Regions from separate parts of the Homo sapiens genome. Here region 2 is linked to region 1. The links are contacts of gene promoters, found by promoter capture Hi-C in blood cells and fetal thymus (Javierre and others, 2016). All regions are on one chromosome and are shown on one strand. Each heading gives the region's core, a stretch centred on a gene start or on the middle of the fragment in contact. The rest is flanking DNA. Distances are from core to core; before and after follow the strand shown. Region 1 holds the start of LRRC66 (leucine rich repeat containing 66). Region 2 overlaps DCUN1D4 (defective in cullin neddylation 1 domain containing 4).

Region 1 (5,109 bases), core at 1,626-4,125:
ATATCCCCAATTCTCACCACAACCCTGCAAGTAGGTGGTATTATCCAAGTTTTACCCATTAAGAAACTGAAGATCAGAGAAGTTAAGAAACTTGCTCAACATCATATAGTAAGTAGCAGAGTTGGGATTGGAATTCAGGCATGACTCAAACCTGGATGTACTTGATTCCAAATGCCATGTTGTTTTCACTCTCTGCACTGACTTTTTAATTATTTAAAACTCTAGAAAGATGAACAAAGGTTAATTTAAACTTACCTAAGAAGATGAGAATCAAACAAAACAGATATGCTTACTCTAGTTAAAAAGAAAATAAATCTCATGTCAGACCCAGAAAGGACCAATCACTGTCCGATTGTAAGCTATGTTGGGCCAATTCCAAAATATTATACGATGGAGAGGTCAAATTTACCTACTTCTGAGTTACCTCAGTTTCCCAACAATGGACCTTGGCACACTGGAGTAACAATACATAACAGAGTTGCCAAGATATTTATACCCTCAGCACTCGGGGCAACACAGTGGAAAGTGGGGAGGCCATAGACCCAAACAAGTTCTTTGGGCCAGGCATGGCCTAGTAAGTACACCATGCCTCGAAAATAAGTCCAGAAGCACTGGACTAAAGAGTGCTAATGCAGGAAATAATACACATAATTTTTAGGTAAGGATAATAATTTATCTCTGCTCCTAATATTACTATCCCATTGTAATTATTTATAACCCTCAAGCCAGTTGATTTTTAATATATTTGATTGGAAAAGAACTCTCTGGTATTATTAAGACTCACACAGAATCAGGGACAGGGCCCCCAAAGGAGTTTGCTGTAAAATAGGCAGTAGAGTTGTGGCATGGGCCCAACCCTGCATTCAAGTGTAACAGCATTCTGTCAGGGTCACTTTGAATTGTGCACATAAGAAAACCAATACAAAAAACAATTTGTATTCAATATTGTCACATTTCTCTCTGGTAGAAAAATCAAATACCTTAGAGATTATGAAGTCATTAATTTATACTGAAATTGGATTGACTTACTACCTAACACTGAGCGCTGTTTTTAAATGAAAAGAATGAGATTTATAACCACTTGAGTGTTATTGCAGTGATATTTGAACTCATTTGAATATATTCAGTATCATTTAATGTCTGAATTCAGAAAAAAATGCCGAAATTTTTATTCAGATGGTCCATAAATTAAATTGCATATTCATTACTTATCTGCTCTATTTAGATTTATTTTAAAAGTTTATTTAAGTAAATATTTTTATAAAAACCAGAAAACACTGTATTACAAAATATTATTTATTAAATGTAGTTCAGGAAATAATCTATTTTTACTCTTTTTTGGGAAATACTTGTGTTTTTGATACATCTCCATGAAGTTCTTTTGAGAGGAGAGGCTATTTTGATGTTTTTATACAACTGAAGGTTAACAGCCATAGCATTTTATGATACTTTACAGGTAGTCCTGGCTTTTTCCCTGAAACATAAGCTTGGAAAATCTATTAGAAAGCAGAACAGGGCAAACTCTCCATTTTACTTATGGCTTTTCTAATTTTTAATTAATTAATTTATTTTTTTGAGACAGAGTCTTGTTCTGTCGCCAGGCTGGAGTGCAGTGGCACAATCTCGGCTCTCGGCTCACTGCAACCTCTGCCTCCCAGGTTCAAGCGATTCTCCTGCCTCAGCCTCCCGAGTACCTGGGACTACAGGCATGTGCCACAGTTCCCGGCTAATTTTTGTATTTTTAGTAGAGACGGGGTTTCACCATGTTGGCCAGGATGGTCTCAATCTCTTGACCTCGTGATCTGCCTGCCTTGGCCTCCCAAAGTGCTGGGATTACAGGTGTGAGCCACCACGCCTGGCCGGCTTATTTTTATCCACAGTAAATCTTCAGCAACTCATTGTCTCCACCAGATAGTATTTTTCTGTAAATGAAATGCTGACTTCGCCTCTTCCTGCTGTATGCTCATCCCTGCACTGAGCACAGATATGACAAGCAGTAGCCATGGGGGAGGTGGGTGACAAAGATAGGACCCCGGGAGGGGGCGCAGGTACATGCTAGTTTCAATTACCACAGTATTCTAGAGACGGGTTGCAATGACAAGGGGGGCAAATGAAATCAATGCAAGATTTCTTAATAATGGGCAGACAGAAAAATGTAAAACCACACAAAACGGACTGCTGATAATATTTTAAAATATACTTATTTGTCTTCTTTTTGCATTGTGAAAAAAACAAAATAAATTTTGTGTGATAATTTTGATGATGAAAGGTGGAAGTTCTACCTAGATTTGAATGAGTGTTTTTTTAAGGGAATGAGAATGTCATGGTGCTAAACCTGACAAATAAGAGATCATTGAAATGCTGAAAATTTTAACAGTCTTCTTAAAAGTATTGAGGGGGCAAAAATTACCAATTATGGTATACAAAAATAAGCCTATAAATGTGTTTCACATTGCTAACTTGAGTTTCAGTTGATTCAGTTTGTAATAACTAGTAATGAGCTTCTGTTTACAATAAAAATTCTGTAAATTGTTTGCTGTTAATTTTTTAAGGGTTATATATTAACTGTTTTCTACTTAGTCATGCGAACGTGATGAATTTAAATATGGCTTGAGAATGGGACGCTGTCAGTATTTATGTAATCTCTCTGGACTCCTAGAACTCAAAGTTAGAAAGTTGTACATTCCAAGTTTTGAATGCCCTCCTCTCTGTGCATTGCAGAAGGCCTCTCTCCAGTGGTGCTTCCCTGGTGTCCTAGGGGAAAGTGCACACTGTCACCATGGCAGGAGGCCAAAGCCGGAGATGAAAGGGTGAGGGCTGGCCACTGGGCAGCCTTGATGGCAGGTTGGGTGGAGCCTCAAAGGTTCAGGTCTTAAATCCCTACCTGGCTTGATCCAGATATCCACCCATTTGATAACCACTTAGGATACGAAGGTATGTCTTAGAGGCATTATTACTTTCCAGGTCTTGTCCTTACCCGAAATAGCCTCTGTTGCTTTTTTCCTTCAGTTTTGCCACCCTTTCTTTTATGTATAAATGAACTCTTCATTTCCTTTCTATAATACTTTGTTTTTTTGTGCTGCCTTCTTCCTATCTTTCACTTGCTGACTCACAAATGTACACACCCAGTATTTCTAACTGCTTCCTCCTACTTCAGCTTGACTATTTCCATTTTGAAATTTACATTTTGCCTAATTGTTTCCAGTTTTCTAAGCAACTTTTTCTGGAGTTCTGAGTGGTTCCTTACCTAATACATATAAATTTATAAATAGTATGATTTTTTTAACAAATTAATACCTTTCACTTTAAGATATAAGATTCCTTGTCTAGCTGTTTTGAACTCAAACCTAACATGTATAAATCTCTTCAGCTTAAAAAGAACCAGGGCAATTTTAATTCATGTCCCCTTAAGAAAAAGTATTTTTCAACCATGTCTTTCTCTTCAGCACTACAAAGTAATGTACCTGTGAATGGTGACTATATTTTTTTGTTGCTGATTTTGTTACATTAGCTTGGTGCACCATTGTATATATAATGATCTCAGCTTTGAACGTAGAAAAAATATCTTTGTTCCTGGGCAAATCAATTCAATTTCTAGTATTGCATAAGAAGCACACTGTAAAAATAAATCACTCCTCCATGCTGTAGGCTACCTTTGCTGTTCATGGCCATGTGTACCTGAATTTAAATGCCCTTGAAAATATGGGAGGATTGACCTTGTATGAAACAAAAGTTTTAAAGTTACATTGTAAATTTCATTCACTTCACTCCATGCATTCATTTACACACAAACAACATAACCCAGTGACAGACTGCAGACTATTAAAAATGTAAAACATTGGATAGATAGATAGATAGATAATGTTCCTTTTTTTTTTGGGAGTTCAGAACAGATACAAAGCAAAACAATAGCAACGCTGAATGTTACTAATGTGTATCAATTCCTTCAGTGTTTACTGAAAGATTTCTGTAAGAATAAAGACAAATTTGGAGGCTAAAGCAGGAAAAATGACCAGGCCATAAGATGTGAGATGAATCTGGAAGGATACACAAGACTGTGGCTGGCCGGGTGTGGTGGCTCACGCCTGTAATCCCAGCACTTTGGGAGGCCAAGGTGGGCGGGTCACCTGAGGTCAGGAGTTCGAGACCAGCCTGACCAACATGGAGAAACCTCATCTCTACTAAAAATACAAATTAGTGAGTTGTAGTGGCACATGCCTGTAATCCCAGCTACTCGGGAGGCTGAGGCAGGAGAATTGCTTGAACCCGGGAGGCGGAGGTTGTGGTGAGCTGACATGGCGCTCTTGCACTCCAGCCTGGGTAACAAGAGCGAAACTCCATCTTAAGACTGTGGCTAAGAGGAAAAGGCATTGAACTTGGAACTGGGAATGAACTGAAAGTGAATTTCAGTATGCGATATGCATAGATCATTCTTTGCAGAAGCCACATCTTGTAGTGGCTCCACATGAACTTATCAAGCTAGGTCATTAAGTTTACCTAGATAACACAGGCTTTGAATACCAACCTGAGGGATTTGGACTATAGGCAATAAGGAGCCCTTTGAGGATTTCAAATGAAGGAATAATATAGGAAATACGTTATTGTAGGAAAATAATCCTTTGGAGTCACCTAGGATGGATCACAAAGAAGGAAAGTCAAGAGGCAGAGGCAAGAAAGTCAGTTAAGCCATTTTAGTATTTCAGACTGCAGTGATGAAAACTAAACTGAGTGCCATTAGAACAGAAAGGAAGGGACAATTTCTTGGAAACTCATATACTCAATAATGTGATTATTTGTACACACAGTGGCTTTTAAGTGGAATTTAGTTTAAAACAAATCACAAAAATTACCCATTTTTAAACTTATTTTTGTGATACATTCAGCCATTGTAATTTGTACACACTTCTTTTTAAAAACTTTGAATTTTTTCTCAAAAATGTTTGGTACAAAAGATACTCAATGTTTCTGTATCGTATTACATCTTCATGGCTTGGAGCCAGAACATGTATTTGATAACACATTATGTTGTATGTATCTAAATGATTTCATAATGATTTGAAAAGTCACACAAGCCACACAGCAAAACTTGTATTTCTTCTAGTCATGAAA
Region 2 (5,109 bases), core at 1,709-4,208, 100 kb after region 1:
TAAAATCTTATTTACATTGAAATCTATATAGACAATCTCTAGTTATCAAATCATAGCTCTTCTTCACAAGAGCTGAAAAGGAGCAAGAAATATTCCAAAATACTCAACTACTATCCTCTGAAGTATTGCAACCATTAGCTGGGAAACATGTTACTACAGACCTTGTAAAACATGTTACAGGACACTATGTTTATTCAGTTAATCTGCAGAGTATGTTTGTTATAGAAAACTGAATTTGTTCAAACCATAAATCAATTTACCAACCCTGGGTTAATTAGCTCACCATTATGTATTTGATATATTTTGCAAGTCAGAAAGCATCCAGTACATACCTAAGAGAATGGCTAAAGTTTTAAAAACTGAAAATACTAAATGCTGATGAGGATATAGGGAGCCACTAGAACTCTCATACATTGTTGATAGAAATGCCAAATGGTTATGACTTCGGAAAATGGCTTGGCAATTTCTTACAAAATTAAACATACACTTACCCTATGACCCAGCAATCCTATTCGATCCCAAAATGGTCGAGAGAAAAGCCTATGTCCCCAAAAATATTAATAATTGCCCTGAACTGAAAATAATCCAAATGTCCACCAACATTTCATAGCACATCCATTCAATGGAACACTGCTCGGCAATAAAAAGCAATGAATCAATAGTGCATGGCTAAATCTGAAAAGCATAATAAGTGAAACAAGCAAAAACAAAATGCTACGTCACATAGGATTCCATATATATGACATCCCAGCAAATGAGAAAAAATTAGAACTCAGTGGATGCCAGGGCCTTGGGTTGGAGAGAGGGGATTTCCTGTTAAGGGCACTAGGAGACCTTGAATGAGCTAGACAGCAAACACACTTACAGACCTCAATCTTCTTGGCTCTTGTCAAACTTTGGTTTATCTCTTGGGGCTCCCCAAGGTGCTGGGGTGGAGACAGACTTTAGCTTCAACCTCAGCTTCCCAACTTTCCAGCTATGTGACTTTAGACCAGTTATTTAAATTCCCTCAACTTCAGGTTCCTCTACATACTTCACGTAAGTGTTGAAAGGTGTTCAAGGAGATCAGTGTAAAGCACATTGTCTGGACACTTTTTCTCAAAGGAGCTAAATGATATCAATAAGCAACCAACTGGCCTTCTTGACTACATCTCTAAAACCCATTAGAGCTTGCTGACCCATTCAGGTGCTGGAGCATCAACTATCAAAACCAGATCCATGAGTGTGCACTGTGGCATCTAAGGAGAGCCCTACACCGATTCCTGATCTCTTCCTATTGTACCTTACTCTCCAAAAGGAACTCTCAGCTCTAACCCAGTTGGTGTGTTTCTGGTCTACCATTGCTAAGTGTCTGAAGGCACTGACACTCAGTGGGCATAGGCCTCCCATTCATAGGTCTTTCCTAATTCTTTAGTCTGTTGATTTTCTATTATTCCAGTTTCCTCTATGCACTCTTGTAAACTTTAATGCCTGTGTTACCAATTTCACATAGGAATTCGGCCTAACACACAATTAAAGTTTGTTGATACAATGATTATATTGAGAATCTGAAAATCAACCCTGATGTAGGCAAAATAAGGACTTGAAGGATTTATGAGCACTTTGAGACACACAGAACACAGACACATGGAACAGGTTGCTAGAAGGCATCTATTATTTTATTCAATAATTTTGGAAGTGTGATAGGATTACAAACCTTGTCCAGGCCCTACTCTCACTATGGGATACAGAGAAGCCACCATAGGTAATGAAGCAAAAATGAACAATAAGCAAGTAGAGACAAAGAAAACGCAGTGGCTTTCAACATGCTATCGAAAGTTGGCCCAAAACTTTTTCATGAGTTATTTCACTGGTAATGAGTACAGCTGTAGCTCTCTTTATCATCACACATGTATCCTAAGATTTCTAGAGAACACTAGTTTGTAATTTTAGATATTCACACTTAGGCAATTCTGAGATGTCTCTGCTGGAAAGTGTCAGAGGGAAAAACAAACCCTTTTCAGCTTCCTTTCTCACAGCCAGGATTCTTTACAATCTATATTTTTCAGAGAGTGATTGCAAAGGAGTTTCTTTCAAAGGACCGAATACACTTATTGGAGAAGAGATTTACATTTTAAATGATGGTTTTTAAAGTTTCCATTTAATTACTATAGTCAATCTTTGTTTTTCAGTTTCCAATTATTATTCTCAGCATAGCCTACGTACTAATTCACCATGATTTCTAAGCAAGTACTTCTATACATGGGATGATTTTATTTTCGTTAAGGCAATTGGAAATAAATGCTAGGAACAAATTCTGGCAGAGAAAAAACTAAACATTTTTCTGCTGAATGTGCCAAAAGTGGTGAACATGCCCGATTTTGAATTACCTTCTGCCTTACCGGGCCAGAAAGCTTGATGTGTTATTTCTTCGCTTGATATATTTTTTTTTTTTCTAGCTATGATAAAGTCCCAAAAGCAATTCTTTTCTAAAGGAATCATAAAAGCTTTCATCTTTTGCTTACTCTTCATGTAAGGATTTGGAGGTAACATTCCAATGAGTCATTTCTATTTGATGCAACCAGCGACCATGGCATGTCCTGCTTTCACGTATGTTCAACAAATCAAGAAAGTCAGTGTCCGGAAATAGCCAATTTTATTCCTCACTTCTGTAGCCCTGGGGTTGACACAATCGTCTTTGATTTCTTCCTGTGGGTGTTTTTCATTTTTTCAGTTCATTTTCCTCTCCACCCCATTATTTCAAAGGGCTTAACAATGTCCTTCCTTTAGGGTGACCTTGTGTAAGTTTTTCCTTCATGGGTATGTCTGCAATGCACCTCTGCTAGGTTTTTTGTCTTGAGCCAGCATTCGTGGTTTACTCTCTCCTCAGTCTATCTTGCTCCAATTACAGCAGAGAACTTTATTTCAATTCCCATGAGTTTACATGTAGAGTCCTAGTACTGTCTAGTGGAATAAATCTCATGTTCCTATTTTCTATTATTGGATAACACGTCTCATGAGTTTCTACTGTTTGCTCTGCCACAAGTTAAGAATTCCCTGTCCTAAGGTTTGTTGTCTCTCACTCCTATCAATTCGGGATTAAGTTTTTTCCTTTATCTCCACCTCTCTTTCTTGATGTCTAGAAGCAGAGATATTTTCTTGGTGTGATGCTCAGCTTTTGGCCCAAATTATGGTTTAAAGAATCATCCACATTGACAATTTTAACAGCGTGCACCTGGATTCTAAGGAATCTTATTTTCTACTTCCTCTCTCTTGCTTTCAAGCGTATAAAAATCAAAAGTCTTCCTCGATTTATTCTTGGATTTTCTAATCTTTACATGTTTCTTAGGTCCTGACAATTCTTTGCCCAGAGAGGAAATTCTGTTACCTGCTTCCTTCCATTTTCTGGCCATCCACTACGTGCCAGAGGTCCTGCCCTCAGAAAGCTTACATTCTAGTATAGTGTAAGACAATTTTAGAAAGGGGTAGCCAGGGCTAACACACACTTATAGACTAATTGCGTGGCAGCCTTGAGGGTAGTAAAGTGGTCATTCCTGCCTAGCTTGTGGCCCACATTATGTACTTAATTCTTTAGCTCAATGTGTAGAAATACACAAAACATGGTGGGTTTTTTTAAAATCACTATTTGGCTGAGGAGTGACTGCACTATCTTTAATCAAAACATTTAAAATACTGTATCTGAAAGTGTTCTAGATTAAAAGAGACTAAAGAGGCGTAACAACTAAATACAATGCTTATCCCTGGATTAAAAAGATAATAGCTATCAAGAACATGACTGGCACAAATGGAGATACTTAAATCTGCACTGTTTATTATAGTATAGTACCACCATTAAACTTCTTGAGTGTGATCATTTTATCATGGTTATAGGTGAATGCCCTTATTCCAAATTAACAGGTGTGATGTGTCATAATGTAATTTACTCTCAGAATCTATTTACAGAATGTGAGAAGTACACACACGTATAGCCCAAGAGTAAGGCAGGAAATACAGTAAAATGTTAACAACTGGAAAATCTAAGTGACAGGTACACAGTTGTTCATTATATTATTGTAGCTTTGGAAATTTTCAATAGAAGAAGTTGGAAAAAAAACAAACAAAAAAGGATAAAAAATGCTTTAAAGACTACCTTAAATGGTTTTTGAAATGAAAGCCAGAAGAGAGAAGAAAAAATTTACACATCTGTTCTGAAACCAAACACAAATACTTTTTATTCATGGGATATCATTTTACATCAATGTCATTGAAACCTAAAACCAGTTTGCTGTACTCAAGTTAGGTGGCATAACAGTATTTCAGTTAAGCTGGGAGTCACAGGACTTGCACACTTTTATGAATGTAATGCAAATACTGACGACACGAAGCATTCACAGTTATAGGTTACCTGCTGTCATTGAACAGTAACCCCCAATAGAAATTATTTTATGAAAAAAGCAACCCACGTTTTGGTCTCATTTACAGACACCCAACATTTTAGTTGGTCAATGAAATCTATACATTTATTATACAACATATGAAAGAATAAAGGATAAGGCTTACAGAGGTATTTTAGCAGTTTTAAGAATAAAAACCAAGGGCACAAACTAACTTTTAAAGCTTTCTGTATAAACTTCAAAAGCACTGTTAAAATGGAGACTGAGAGAGAAAATAAATCCATTGTGAAACCAGAATCTAGGTTTGCCTAGTCAGATTTATAAAAACATAATTCAGAGTTCATGCTTCAAAAAAGGTGCATGTAACATTACAGTGGATGTTTGAGGCAAATCAAATAATACAATTTCTGACCTACTTCAGCAGTAAACATCTAAAGGTTGTATTCCATGACAACAGAGTATTGCAATGTGGAGTTCGAAACACAATAGAAAAAGAGAAAGGGTTGTAGACTTAGGTACTAAAGAAAACCCAGATGAAGGCACCCTAATTTATTCAACATTAGCCAGTAAATAAGTGCTTGATGATTGTTCAGTTTTGTGCAACTTAGAGAAGTTTTTAAGAAAATGTATCATATTACTCTGTCTGACCCCTTTTTCTCCCCTTAGAAATAAATATATAAAATCAAGACAATCAAGGGTAAGCACTCTGCCGCTCAGCAGTCAAAGAGGTTTATTT

Evidence for each region. Contacts are between HindIII fragments. The CHiCAGO score rates a contact against its expected background, and 5 or more counts as called.
Region 2: a contact is called between a fragment that was not itself captured here and the fragment with the promoter of LRRC66 in region 1, in 1 of 17 cell types (monocytes). The highest score is 5.7, in monocytes.

Annotation. Positions count from the first base shown.
Region 1 is chr4:52,018,129-52,023,237 of GRCh38, reverse strand. LRRC66 (leucine rich repeat containing 66) reads left to right here and starts at 2,875. Exons shown (of 5, transcript NM_001024611.3): 1 at 2,875-2,934. SGCB (sarcoglycan beta) reads left to right here. Exons shown (of 6, transcript NM_000232.5): 6 at 1-2,532. The HindIII fragment of the contact is 6,788 bases long and covers 1,489-5,109 here.
Region 2 is chr4:51,915,914-51,921,022 of GRCh38, reverse strand. It overlaps DCUN1D4 (defective in cullin neddylation 1 domain containing 4), which reads right to left. Exons shown (of 11, transcript NM_001040402.3): 11 at 4,186-5,109. Among named protein-coding and RNA genes, the nearest start is that of DCUN1D4, 75 kb to the right of the region's middle. The HindIII fragment of the contact is 939 bases long and covers 2,489-3,427 here.